Regions from separate parts of the Homo sapiens genome. Here regions 1, 3, 4 and 5 are each linked to region 2. Evidence: promoter capture Hi-C in 16 types of primary human blood cells and fetal thymus (Javierre and others, 2016). All regions are on one chromosome and are shown on one strand. The core of a region is centred on a gene start or on the middle of the fragment in contact, and the rest is flanking DNA. Distances in the headings are between cores, read along the strand shown.

Region 1 (2,700 bases), core at 49-2,548, 320 kb before region 2:
TTTTTTTCACTTTGTTTATGTGTCGTTGGATGTATGGATGAGTTTTAATTTTAATATAGTAGAATTTATCTATCTTTTCTCTATGCTTTGTGCCTTTTTTATCTGATTCTCCCTTACCCTCAAATCATAGAGATACTCGTCTATATTTTCTTCTAAAAGTTTTAAAGCTTTGCTTTTCACATTTAGGTGGTTTTAATGAACCTGAAATTGATTTGAGGTAAGGAATGAGTTTGAGATCCAATATGGTTTTTTCTATACAGATAGGCATTTATTCCAGAACTGTTAACCGTTGGCCCTAATTATTGGTAATGCCACTTCTGTCACATAACAATCCCCTATAAACGTGAGTCTGTTTCTACAATTAACTTGCCTCTCTTTTTTCCTCCATTAGTCTATATGTCCATCTCCGTGTCCAAACCAATTTAAATATCATACATATGGTGTGTGTGTGTGTGTGTGTGTGTGTATATATATATATATATATAAAATCTGTATATGTAAAATAGCTCTTGATAGCTGAGCTCCCTCTGTCCCTCAGCCACACCTTTCACTTCTTCACAATTGTCTTGGCTACTGTTGCCCTTGTTAACTCTTCCTAATGAATGTTAGAATCACTTTGTTGAGTTCTATTAAAAACCCTACTTGGATCTCGACAAGAATCCGATGTCTCTTTAGTTACTGATAAGAAGTTATCTATTGAATTGTTGCTTCTTTGTAAATAATCTTTCTTTCTCTCTGGTTGCTTTTTTGTCTTTGGTATTCTAAAATTTTTCTGCAGTGTATGTAGGTATAGGTTTATTTTATTTATTCTATGGAAACTTGGTGTACCTTGTCAGTTTGGGGATTCAAACCTTTAATCAGGTCTGGAAAAATGTAAGTCACTATCTTTTCAAATATTAACTATCCTCTATTCATTCTATATTCCTTCTGGAAATTCTATGGGACCTGTATTGAAATGTCATATTCTATTCTCCGTGTCTCTCACTCTCTCATTAATCTTTATTTCTTTTTATATTGCATTATGTGTTTTTTTCTCAGATCTGTCTCTAGTTCAGTATACTAATTCTCTCTTCAGTTGTTTCTATATTTTTACCTTTATAGTTAATACTTAATTTCTATCACTGTATTTTTCATTTTAAAAAGTTTTCTTTGATTTTTTTATTTTTTATTTATTTATTTTTTTTGAGAAATGGTCTTGCTCTGTTGTTCAGGCTGGAGTGCAGTGGTGCAATTCATGGCTCATGGTAGCCTTAACGTCTTGGGCTCAAGCGAACCGCCCACCTCAGGCTCTCCTCAGAGTAGCTGAGACTACAAGGAGGCACCACCATGCCCAGGTAATTTTTGTATTTTTCCTTTTAGAGATGATGTTTTGTCACGTTGCCCAGGCTGGTCTGAAACTCCTGGGCTCAAGCAATCTACCGATGTTGGCCTCTTAAAGTGCTGGGATTACAGGTGTCAGCCACTGTGCCCCACTTCTTTGATTCTTTTTAATATTTGCTTGTTCTTTTCTCATAGTACCCTCTTCTTTCAAAATGACTTAGATTTAAAAAATCTTTTAAATCATTTAATCATATTTATCTCATATCTCTCTTATCTCAATTGGAATGCACTTATTCTTCTGTTTGTCATATCTGATGACTGTCCTTTTTGGTGAATCATAAAATCACACAGATCATAATTCTTGTTGTGAGCTCAACTTTAGTGGACTTATTTCCAGTGTTAATTTTACACACTTTGTGTAGAAGAAATATTTTTACAAAGGGGTTCTGCATTTGCGTTTGTGAGCATCTTGGAGGTTCCCTGGTCCTGAATTTCTTTTTACATTAATTCCTCAGTTTAGAATTTTCCCACCACCTGGGTGGAATGAATGTGAATTTCACATTTGTTTGGAGTTTCCATTCTTCTGGGAGATTTTTTTTTTCACACTTGAATCAATGAGAGAAGTTGTTATCCTAATTACTTCTTTATGGAGAAGGAGCTCTTCAGGGTCCCGTATTTATACAAGAGTATCAGTTCTATCTGTCATCTGCCAAAGATCCTGTGTGAGTATTTTTAACTCTAATCTTCAGCCTTCGATTACATATGTTCAGTCCATCCTGAACTGCCTAAGTTTCAGCTAAAGGCTTATTACTCAGGTTTTTAATTTCCCTTTGTTTTAGGTATCTGCTCATTTCCTCCCCTATCCTAGGGCTACATATTGAAGAAAATTATCATACTTGATCCAACATTTCTATGGATTTGCAGAGGAAAAGGAATTGCATGAGCTCAGCCAGCCTTGTTGTCACAGCTTCAAATTTTCAGCTGGCTGATTACTATTAGCAATGATGGGGAACTAAAAGAGGTAAGCTAATTAGTTCATTTTAGGCTCTCATTTAATTATGTCATCAGGAGTGTTAACAAATTAAAGGACGATGTCATCTTTCAAATCAGCAAGCTTCTCTTTTAGAGTAGGTTCAATTTATTTTAACATGTTAAATAATCAATTTTTAAATGTAGTCTGGTTATTAACTTTTTTCTTGTTTCTAAATATCCTTGGTGACTTTATTATATAAAAAGCAATTTTATAAATAAAAACAATTGTTAGTTACTGAATATTAATAATTATCCTAAGGCATGAAGATATGTTTCTTTTCAGGAAAATAAATATAATGTTTATTAGCCATAATTTCTTCATCCAAAGCTTATATATCAAAGTGTCTC
Region 2 (2,700 bases), core at 67-2,566:
CTGCATAATGATTCCATTTTTAAGATACCTCTAAATTATAAGGGATTCCAGCCTCTACCTGGAAATTAAAGCTGTGCAGATAAAATACAAAGTCATTAATAAACATCACAAAGATAATTCTAACAAGAAGCACCATGTAAAAGTAAGGCAGGAATCAGAAAAATCATCAATTACTGACATATTAAATCACACTTTCAAAAGAATAGGGAGCTGGAAGCAGCCGCTCCCTTTCAGGAGGGCTGTATGACACTGAATGAAATGCCAGGGACTCCTGGCTGGTGAGCAGCGGGAACTTTGCGGTCGAGCGGCGCGGGGCAGCCACAGACCTGGGCGCTTCAATCTGTCACCAGCCTGCCCGCAAAGCCCAGCGACAGCCCCCAACGCCCCCCCGGGGACCCATCTGGGGGGACCGGGAGCAGGACAAAGGTCTGAAATCCAAGTCCTAGGAGTAAAGAAACAAAATGCGCAGGTTCAATTTAAAGTGCCTGCGGTAAGTACGGGGAGTGAGGGGGAAAGACACCGGCCTCCAAGAATTCTCAGGCGTTTAGCACAAGCACCAGCTCATTACCAGGAGATGCGTTCGGGGAGTGGGGACATGGAGAATGAATCCCAACTTGTGACTCCATTCTCCACTAACTTTATTCTCGCTCCCTGGACCAAGCGCATCGCTGGGGCCAGGGTTGTCATGGTTCTTGTTTCCAAGGCCCCTTGGAAGAAGGAAAGGGATGAGAAAGGTGCGCTGGCGGGCGCACCCGGCGGCGGCGAGCGCGGAGGTGCTGCGGTACCTACCATGGTATTCTTGTCCCGGAACGTAGTAGGTGGGGTTGCCCGCAATATGCAGGGAAATGAGCACCTCGCCCTGCTCCCCATCCCCTTCCAGCTCCCCGTGGTGGGTGCACAGGAAAAAGAAGGGCGAAAAGCGGGGGTAATAGCCAGCCGCCGCGCGCGCCCTCAGCGTCGCCCCCAGCAACAGCGCTAGGAGGAAAGTCTGCCGGGCCCAGCCACTGCGCTCCATGCCGCCGCCGCCGCCGCCGCCGCCGCGCGCCCTACGCGCCGCTCGCTCATTCAGTTTTGGAGACGCCGGGACGGAGGAGCCACGCGGAGAGAAGGCGAGAAGAAGGCGGACGGGAGCGGAACGGGCTCGGGAGCGGGCCTGGGAGCGGGCCCCCGCCGAGAAGTTCCGCGGGAGACGGCGGCTCCCAAAGTTACTTTGGGCCGCGGGAGCGCGGGACCGGGGCTGCGGGCGCCGAGAGCGCGTCGTCTGCCGCCTCCGTGCGCCGCCGCCGCCTCTGCGCGACGCCCCTCGGCCAGGCCTGGGAAAGCGCCCGCCCCGCTCCACACCTTCTTAAAGCCCCGGGCGCCGCGTCCCCCCCGCCGCCGCCACACGTGTCCCGGCCGCTCCCCCGCCCCCGCGCGCCGCCCCGCCCGCCCCCCGCCCTCTCGGGCTGGCTCGGCGGCACCTCGCGCGGCGAGGGGCGCACGCGTCCCCGGAGTCCCCGGCCAGCGCCCGGTTCGCACCCGGGAGGACAGGGAGGGGCGCCCGCCGGGGAGCGGGACGGGGACGCTGTCGAGGACCGCTGAGCCCGCGACTCTTCTGCGAGGGACGTCAAAGCCCCGCAGAGGGCACCTCCCGTCCAGCTGTCTGAAGGGGAAGGCCAGCCCCTTTGGCCGTCAGTGTGCCCTGTTTTTCCTGGGAGGATGCGTGAGGGAAGGAGAGGGGCGGCAGGGACGGCCGCTGGCGCCGGTTTCTTTGTCTGAGCCGGCTGCGTCCCGCGCCCCTCGGGGCTCGCAGTCTGCCAGTCCGGGCGGCCCGCACTCGTTCTGGGAATCCGCCCGAGGCCGCGAACCGCTAGGGGCCCTCGCGCTCCCTTCCCACCCAGGCCCCCTGTCCCTCCCGCCGCGGCCGCCCGGCCCCTCGCGGCAGCGACAGAGCCTCATCTGTAGAGGATTTTAAAATGAGATTAAGCGAAAGTGGAATTGGCAGACTCGAGTGGTGCCTGGAAATGGTGATTTGTGCTGCTCGGTTGTGGGGAATTGTAAGGCAGGAAGGGCTGGCGGAGCTAAGATCCGACAGGCTCTCTTCGCCGGACTGTTCTGTTATTCATTGCTTCTGGGCTCTTCAGGCAGAGATGGGTGTTGTAATTTTTTAAATCAGTGTTTATTTCCTTTAAATGTCGGTTATGACCAATGGCCCTGAAATCGGGGGAGGGAAAAACGTTCAGGGGAGATGCTGGCAGCGGTGATTGAAGCGGGTGGTAATGAGCGGCTGCACATGAACTGCAGGGAAGTGAAATAATCCATAAGCACGTTTTTAACCGAGGACGGCTGGCAGGAGCCCTGCGGCATCCGGAGATGGGGGAGCGGGGTTGCCAGGTTTTAATGCCTCTCCCCACCCACCCTTGGCTTGCCACCAAGCCAGATAAACCCGCACGTACAGAAATGAGTAGATTATAAAATTGGAAGGGATAGTGCCTTTGCCTGCATTTGTGGGGCGAGGGGCGGTGAAAATCAGGGTCCAAGGGGAGACCTCTGTAATCACTTCGTTGCAAAAGGAAGAAATTGTTTTTCTTCCTCTTACTGAGACCGAATGACAGGTAGAAAGGGCCCATTTCTAGCTGGCTTCTTGTTTCCCTTACTTCAAAATCCCCAGAGGCTTAACTGCCATATAAATAATATACAGTGTATACATATATGTATGTG
Region 3 (2,782 bases), core at 3-2,502, 350 kb before region 2:
CCAAATTAGTGGCACTTCAAGAAAAACAAACCTTTCCCCACTCCCCAACAACCTGCTTGCTTCTATGTAAGAATGTGCTGTATTTATATTAGCTGACTAGAATATACAGGAGTGCCCCAAGTTTTCTATCAGTGAGAAAACCTCATCACAGATGAATCAGCAATGGAAACATCTACGTTTTAAGGAGATTATTCATCAGGAAATAGTTTCAAATTATTTGTTTTTACTGTGCTATTTCCTTCTCACTACATTTATAATGTTGCTCAATTGGTATCTTTTTGAGTGGGGGATTCTCATGGGAGCATTCAAAGCTTGCTGAAGTCTGAAACAAGCCTTTACAAAGCAAGTGTACCAATGAAGTGATACTATGGCATGACTCAGGATACTTCTTTGGCAGTACTACTGAGACTTGGGTCTATGCTGGCCTTTCAAGGAGTCCATGGAATGTAAAAATATGCTAAATCAAATGACCAGTTTTATGTATATTGGATTTTCTGGGGAGAAGGTCCATAGGTTTTATCAGATTACCAAATAAGTTGGAGCCTAAAATGCTAAGAACTACTGTAGCATGAAGTTTGAAGGTTGTCTTGGTATCTTAAGTAGCATCAATAAGGGGATGAAAGGAAAGCCAATATTTACTGGATGAGCCTTCTTTCACATGTTGTCTAATGGACTTAGACTGAACTTAGACTGAATAGCCAAGTTGTTTCCAAAAAAGAATTTTTAAAATCAGCTAAATTGAACACATTTTAAAGTCAGGAAACTGAATGTGTTTTACCACAGTCACGAATTGGAATTAATTTTCCTTAGCAAGACTATCTATTCCAGAGTGCATTTTAGGGCAATTACATTTTTGTGTATCTTAAATGTGTCTTCTCAGGACAAGTGACTGGGAGAAACTGGTGATCGTTTAGAGATGACTCACATTGGAGTCACTTTCCATTTAGTCGTTTTAAAAGTCTACTTTTAATCAAAGGTTATTCAGTTGAGATATAATGCTGATAAAGATAAAGTAGTTTTTTAAAAATATTTTTTAAAAAAAACAAAAAACTTTGTAGTCTTTGTTTCTCAGCAAAACAACAAGGTCACACACATTGGTGATTTCGGGTATGACACGAGGCTCTCCTGACTCCCAATATGTCTGCTACTAATCCATCTACACATGCTTAAATTTAGCGGTATAGTCACCCTGTAATGTCAGGAAAATCACCCCACTGTTAAGCTACATGGATGACACTCGTGAAGAAAGGGGTTCTAATGCTCTGTCTCCTCATTAGCATCTCTAACAGGGTTGGGCTTATCAGGTTAGTAGTGTGTCCATTTAGAGAACCAGGCCTGGGATTGTACACAGGCCAGAAAGTGTTAGAGGGAACATGAGAGAGTAGAATCTTGATAGCAAATAGCAGTAAAACACGGGGGAGAGGTGGAGTAAAGAGGAGAGAAAAATATAAAGTTGCAAAGGTCCCAGATTCAATGATTTGTTTAAAGGAAGTAAGTGGTATTACATATACATTTCTTTTCTGTGTGATTTTGCTCAAATTCAATAAGGTACACATTGCTGGAAAAGGAGGTAGTAGTCAAACTTTTAGCCCAGCCGTAAGCGAACAAAGCCAATGAATATTACATAAAACATTGTTAGAAATAGGGAAAAACACTAAAGTTCTAAATGGTGAAAATATTCCATAAAACCTCAGAAGGAGGAAAAGACTATGACTATTCGGAATAATGGATGGTGTCAAAAAAGAACAATGTCCAAAAGCATAAAGCTACCATTTAGATTTGTTTGTATCCACCATGGGTGGCATAGATGGTAGCCTTAATGAAACCACTTAATTCTAAGAGGAATATGATACACATAAAATGAAGTCTGAAGTATAACTACTGTAATTATGGATAGGTCTTTTTAGAAATGCCACTTTCTATTTTTTGAAAATAAAAGTTGTCATTCTAGGTAATTTTTTTCCCCAAAACTTTTTAGGACAACATCAGGATTTGCAAAACTATCTGGCCTCATGTTAATTTTATTTGAAATACACTAAGAAGATGGTCTGATTATGGATAATGGATGCACATAACAACTTGAGGAAGATATCAGCCAATGTTTCATAGATCTACTGACCAGTGTTTTGGAATGGGAGTTGGTAGTTTTACTAGAAAACACAGGAATGCATATTCAGTTTGGAAATATAGATGGAAGCTTTTCAATTCTTCACATACTTTATAAAAAATTTCCATTGGGAAAAGTGATCTCTTTGTTAACTAAATTCACTGAAATATAGTTAGAAAGTTAAAAAGCCACACTAATCTCAATGTCAACAAGCGCTTGGCTCATACATGCAATTTCTTTTTTTTCTTTTTCTCTCTTTTTTTTTTTTTTTGAGATGGAGTCTCACTCTGTCGCCCAGGCTGGAGTGCAGTGACACGATCTTGGCTCACTGCAACCTCTACCTCCCGGGTTCAGGTGATTCTCCTGCCTCAGCCTCCCGAGTAGCTGGGATTACAGATGCACGCCACCACGCCCGGCTAATTTTTGTATTTTTAGTAGAGATCGGGTCTCACCATGTTGGCCAGGCTGGTCTCGAACTCCTGACCTCAAGTGATCCACTGCCTCAGCCTCCTAAAGTACTGGAATTACAGGCATGAGCCACCATGCCCAGCCTACAATTTCTAAATGATCCAGGTTCAAAGCTCTTTTATGAGTTCTCTACTCATTAACTAATTAGCTAATTGATTAATTACTCTTTTTGTTGGAGGGACAAGAAAAAGTAGACTAGATGATCAG
Region 4 (2,700 bases), core at 123-2,622, 430 kb before region 2:
GTCTCAAAAAAAAAAAAAAAAAAAGTGAAAAAATTAAGCTTGCAACCATATTAAATTGATATACCATGGAACTGCCTTGCTAATTTCAGAAAGCTGTGACAATGCTGTGTATATAATGTATGTGAAAGCATGCTGTCCTTCAAATAATAGCAGTGCTATGAACCCTCCCCTGGCAAGAGTGGGTTTTGAGTTGTGTTTTAGTGGTTTAGGGGAATCTGTGAGACATGCAGTCTGTGAGAATGAGTGGTCAGTTAGTGGACTTAGAGCCGAGGAACACTAATCAGTCTATTCAGGGAGCAATTCATGCTTTTTAGGGCCAACCCATGGCTTAGCACCATACTTCAGTCAGGCTGAAGGACTATGGCCATTAAAATAATGCCCTGATACGTAATTGCATTTATTTGTTTATTTAATACAGAAGAAAAATATTCTATGATCAATAATACTCCATGTTTTCTTAATGTTTTTCATATCTTCTATGTTGATCTGGAGATACTGTGGGAATATATAGGAAACTAGGGAAATCACCCTTTATACTGCTATAGTATTTGATTCAGTGATTTAGACCAGGTGTTTAAGGAATATGTTAGAGTAGATAATAACGGCAAAAGCCAGGCTGCTTTTGTAAAGCACTGTTTGGACTGACCTTGAAAAAAGGTGATAAGTCCATGCCAAGCAGGAACGTCAAGATTCCCTAGGTTGCTTCTTCACTGATTTCTACTTCAGTGCAATTCTTACAAAACATAAAAAAGGATCTGTAAACAGGAGCCTGTAGAACAAACCTGATGCTTTGAATGAAATCACAGGTCTCTATCTCTAATCCTATCAGTGTTCTAATTCTAGTAGCATTCTTTCCTCTTCTTGTTTAGAAAGTGGTTGGTGGAATCAATGAAAAAATAATTAGGTGAGCACTCCAAACATAGTATGAAGACAGCAATCCCTCCGTCACCCAGGCTGGAGTGCAGTGTCATGATCTCGGTTCACTCCAACCTCTGCCTCCCAAGTTCAGTGATTCTCCTGCCTCAGACTCCCAAGTAGCTGGGATTACAGGTGTGTGCCACCACGCCCAGCTAATTTTTTTGTATTTTTGTAGAGATGGGGTTTCATCATGTTGGCCAGGCTGGTCTTGAACTCCTGACCTCAGGTGATCCACCTGCCTCGGCCTCCCAAAGTGCTGGGATTACAGTTGTGAGCCACTGCGCCTGGCACATTCCTTTTTTGGACTTTTATTCAGTGACAAGATGTATGTATACATATATGTTTCACAATACATTAAAAATTTTGTTTTATGTTTTAGTTTTAACATATTGTTAAGGAAATAGGTTAAATTTTAGAGATGGAAGAACCTTTGCCTTTTCCATTTTTGTGTTGCCTCTGCAAAGAATCTGCTGCTTAATGTGGCATCTCCATGCTTATTTAGGTGATTATATGCATGACTTGGTAAAGTCTGGTCCTTTATAATCAGCAGTTAATAGAAATATAGAAAGCAATAAAACATTACCAATTTGTAGAATCATTTTCTGTAACCATTTGAAATGTATTAAATTATACATTCACTTTAACTTATCACTGAAGCAAGTGTATGTGATAAGAATATTTTATCTACGGCACTATCTGCTTGGTCTAAGTCCCTCTCACTTCGTCATGGCATTTTGCTATAGTATTCTATTTCACTAATGAAACGCCACACTCAGAAGAACTATGTATTCCCAAATAAATGCAACAAAAATGTCATTACAACTGATGAGTGCCTAATGATAATGCTGGATTATTTTTAAAAATCTTTAGCTCTGTAACAGAATTCAGCTATATTTACATTAACAGGAGAACCCACTAGTCAAATATGAAGAGATTATATATACGTGTATATATATATATATATGTTAAATATTTAAATATTTATTGAGACTTGTTGATACGGTTTGGCTCTGTGTCCCCACCCAAATCTCATCTTGAATTGTACTCCCATAATTCCCATGTATTGTGGGAGGGACCCAGGTGGGAGATAATTTGAATCATGAGAGCAGTTTCCTCCATAATGTTCTTGTGGCAGTGAATAAGTCTGATGAGATCTGATGGGTTTATCAGGGGTTTCCACTTTTGCATCTTCCTTATTTTCTCTTGCTGCTGCCATGTAAGACATGCCTTTTGCCTCCCGCCACGATTCTGAGGCCTCCCTGGCCATGTGCAAGTGTAAGTCCGATTAAACCTCTTTTTCTTCCCAGTCTGGGTTTGTCTTTATCAAGAGCACGAAAACGGACTAATACATTTGTCAAAAGTGAAGCATGTAAAATGTGTGTGCTGTGGACAGCTAAGCTGCTCAGTTGACAAACACTTCCTCCACACCTTAGAAACAAATGTGTTAACATGCCACTATCAGTTCTGATCACAGGAGAACACATGCATTTTTACCGTTATTATAAGGTTGCCAGAGTCTGAATCTTGTAGCATTGGTTTGGGCAGTGTATGGCAAGGGAACATTGATGAAAAGTATATTCGTTGTTTGAGGAAAGTAAAATTCATCCATCAGGTGCCAAGTGATTCCTCCACTGATGGAGAATTGTAACAGAATAGAGTGAGATCTCTCTGGGGTACCTAGGAAGAAGATAACACAGGTATAAAACATACTGTGATAAAAATGGGGAAATGGTATGTTCTTAGCTGAATCTTTAGGCATCAATGCATAAGAGAACTTATGTT
Region 5 (2,700 bases), core at 137-2,636, 460 kb before region 2:
TTCACAATAACAAAGACATGGAATCAACCTAATAGCCCATCAATGATAGACTGGATAAAGAAAATGTGGTACATATACACCATGGAATACTATGCAGCCATAAAAAGGAATGAGAATCATGTCCTTTGCAGGGATGTGGATGGAGCTGGAAGCCATTATCCTCAGCAAACTAATGCAGGAACAGAAAACCAAATACCATATGTTCTCACTTATAAGTGGGAGCTGAACAATGAGAACACATGGACACACAAGGGGGGAACAACACACACTGGGGCTTGTTGGAAAGTGGGGAGTGGGAGGAGGGAAAGCATCAGGAAGAATAGCTAATGGATGCTGGGCTTAGTACCTAAGTGACTGGATGACCTGTGCAGCAAACCACCACGGCACATGTTTACCTATGTAACAAACCTACACATCCTGCACATGGAACCCTGAACTTAAAAGCTGGAAATGAAAAAAAAAAGAAGAAGCTTTTCTGAATGCAAATCTGTTCATGTCTCCCTATTGCCAAACACTTTAACAGGCTTTTAAGTGTTCCTATAATGAACCTCCAAATCTTTAATACAACCTACAATGCTCTTCATGGTCTGACACCATCTCATACCTCACCTTGCTCCTCTCTCTATCTGATCCATATATTCAGCATCTCAAATACACCTGTCCCCTCCTACAATTGGCTGCTATCCTTGCTTGGAACACTCCTACCCTTACACTTTACCTGGTTAACTTGTATTCAACCTTCATATCTTACCTCAATTATCCTTTTTTCAAGAAAGCATTCCTTGGCCTTCTTGACCAGGTCACATCACCCTACGATACAGAAACTTAGAGCATCATGTACCTGTTCTCCATCACTTATCACAGTTGAATTTTATATTTACTCCTGTGATTATTGGTGATTTCTGGCCAATACTCCTCTCCTACCAAATTAAAAGCTCCTTGAGTCAGGGATCAGTTCAGCTCCCTCATAGGCCTAGCACATAATTAAGCAGTTAAAAATATTTGTTTAATGAGTGACTGAATGAATAATTGCTACTGATGACTAGTGACCATTTTAGTTTGGTGAATGGTTTGACGTCAATTTGTGACCAGCCAACCTCAGCTGACACTCACTAGTACTGTGCCAACAATACTGGGATCCTAGCCTTATGGTCATGTGTTGAGTAGACAAGGCTGCAGTTGTGACATGGTCACAGTCATTCCTAACCCTTACTGAGCACATGTCTTTAAGTTGTCAGCATCACGTTTCTTTATAGCGAAGAGCTACAAACTGAAATCCTCAATTCTGGCCTGCTTAATAAACATTGACATTTCAATACGTTTCCAGATAACAGAGACAGCGATTTTAATTTAAAACAAGGAAACACCATATTTACCAAGTAACTGAATATAAATGTAGATGTAGTGTAGATATGTTTACTCATGTTCGAAACAAGTAACTCTGAGACTGGCATATTGTTCTAATGATCTTTGGCATATGGCAGAGAAGTGACTCTGGCTTGGGCTCCCTCCATGCACATTTCTTTCTGAATTACCCAAAGGGCCTTGTTACAAGGCAGTGTCACCTTTAAGACAATTGTACATGAGCCTTGAGGGTAATATAATAAACAAACTGCTTATTTTCAGTACAGAACAGGGGGAAATGGATGCTCATCAGATTTTTCAAATAACATTTGAAAGGGTCAAAATTCTTGTGGGTATGTACAAGAGACAATTAAAAGATAGATTAAAAGATGAGAAATAATTACTTTTCTTGAGTAAAAGACTCAAGGGCATAATGACTAGCTGGAGTAAATCTTAGAATGTCGCTTATTTGCAAAATGTGACTGAGTAGCTGGGTAATAATTCATAGAATTCATAAAGACTTAAAAGACTGTTGCCTTAATGGAGTTTTTTTTTCTATTTTACTTATTAAGATCGCTTTAATAATTCATGCATGGCAACACCTTTAATGAGCAACAAAATCTCACGTATCTCATTTAAACTTGGCAACTCTGCTGACAGTTAATATAGTCTCGTACCTCTGAGCCAGCAATTGTAAAGCAGCCCTAGGCTGTTACTAACTGAAACCATCCCATTTATGATAATCCTAAGAAAAGTTATGCCCTAGATGAATGGTTGAATTTTATGGTCATTTGCTAGGAAAATTTATTCATTCTTCATTTGTGGGAAGATGACAAAACAATAATAAGCCCAAACTATAACTCCTGTTCCACACACTGGATTGGTTGCTTTGCTTCTTTCTTAATGCAGCAACTGAAAACCATTTTCTTGGAGGAAATAGGAGTTTCTATCAAGATGTTAAAGCTTTCCTATAATTAGCACCTAGTTTAGATGGTGAAAGAGAGAGTGTCATGTAACACTATTCCACTAGGCAAAGCTAATTCTCTGCTTTACTCAAACAGGAGTGGAAATGCACAGATAATTTAGATTTAACTTCTTTATCAGAATTTACTAGGCAATTTTATTTACTTTAATTTTTAATTTTTTTTTTTGAGACAGGGTCTGGCTCTGACACCCAAGCTGGAGTGCAGTGGCATGATCATAGCTCACTGCATTCTCAAACTCCTGGGCTCTAGTGATCCTCCTGCCACAGCCTCCTGAGTGGCTGGGACTGCAGGTAGGTACCACCATGCCTGGCTAATTTTTTAATTTTTTTTGTAGAGATGGGGTCTCGCTGTTGTTTCCCAGGCTAGTCTT

The links. The method cuts DNA at HindIII sites, captures the fragments that hold promoters and counts their contacts. A CHiCAGO score of 5 or more calls a contact.
Region 1: a fragment that was not itself captured here is called in contact with the fragment with the promoter of RELN in region 2 in 1 of 17 cell types (endothelial precursors); the score reaches 5.7 in endothelial precursors.
Region 3: a fragment that was not itself captured here is called in contact with the fragment with the promoter of RELN in region 2 in 1 of 17 cell types (endothelial precursors); the score reaches 5.2 in endothelial precursors.
Region 4: a fragment that was not itself captured here is called in contact with the fragment with the promoter of RELN in region 2 in 1 of 17 cell types (endothelial precursors); the score reaches 6.9 in endothelial precursors.
Region 5: a contact is called between a fragment that was not itself captured here and the fragment with the promoter of RELN in region 2, in 1 of 17 cell types (endothelial precursors). The highest score is 5.1, in endothelial precursors.

What each region holds. Positions count from the first base shown.
Region 1 is chr7:103,664,898-103,667,597 of GRCh38, forward strand. All of the region lies in intron 11 of RELN (reelin), which reads right to left. Among named protein-coding and RNA genes, the nearest start is that of SLC26A5, 220 kb to the left of the region's middle. The HindIII fragment of the contact is 2,267 bases long and covers 166-2,432 here.
Region 2 is chr7:103,988,342-103,991,041 of GRCh38, forward strand. It overlaps RELN (reelin), which reads right to left and starts at 1,317. Exons shown (of 65, transcript NM_005045.4): 1 at 790-1,317. The coding sequence starts at 1,015. The HindIII fragment of the contact is 6,896 bases long and covers 1-2,700 here.
Region 3 is chr7:103,637,040-103,639,821 of GRCh38, forward strand. The region is part of intron 17 of RELN (reelin); the gene reads right to left. Among named protein-coding and RNA genes, the nearest start is that of SLC26A5, 190 kb to the left of the region's middle. The HindIII fragment of the contact is 1,886 bases long and covers 310-2,195 here.
Region 4 is chr7:103,554,565-103,557,264 of GRCh38, forward strand. It overlaps RELN (reelin), which reads right to left. Exons shown (of 65, transcript NM_005045.4): 38 at 2,413-2,595. Among named protein-coding and RNA genes, the nearest start is that of SLC26A5, 110 kb to the left of the region's middle. The HindIII fragment of the contact is 2,672 bases long and covers 37-2,700 here.
Region 5 is chr7:103,532,011-103,534,710 of GRCh38, forward strand. All of the region lies in intron 46 of RELN (reelin), which reads right to left. LOC105375435 (a long non-coding RNA gene) reads left to right here and starts at 2,580. Exons shown (of 3, transcript XR_001745315.2): 1 at 2,580-2,620. The HindIII fragment of the contact is 1,837 bases long and covers 469-2,305 here.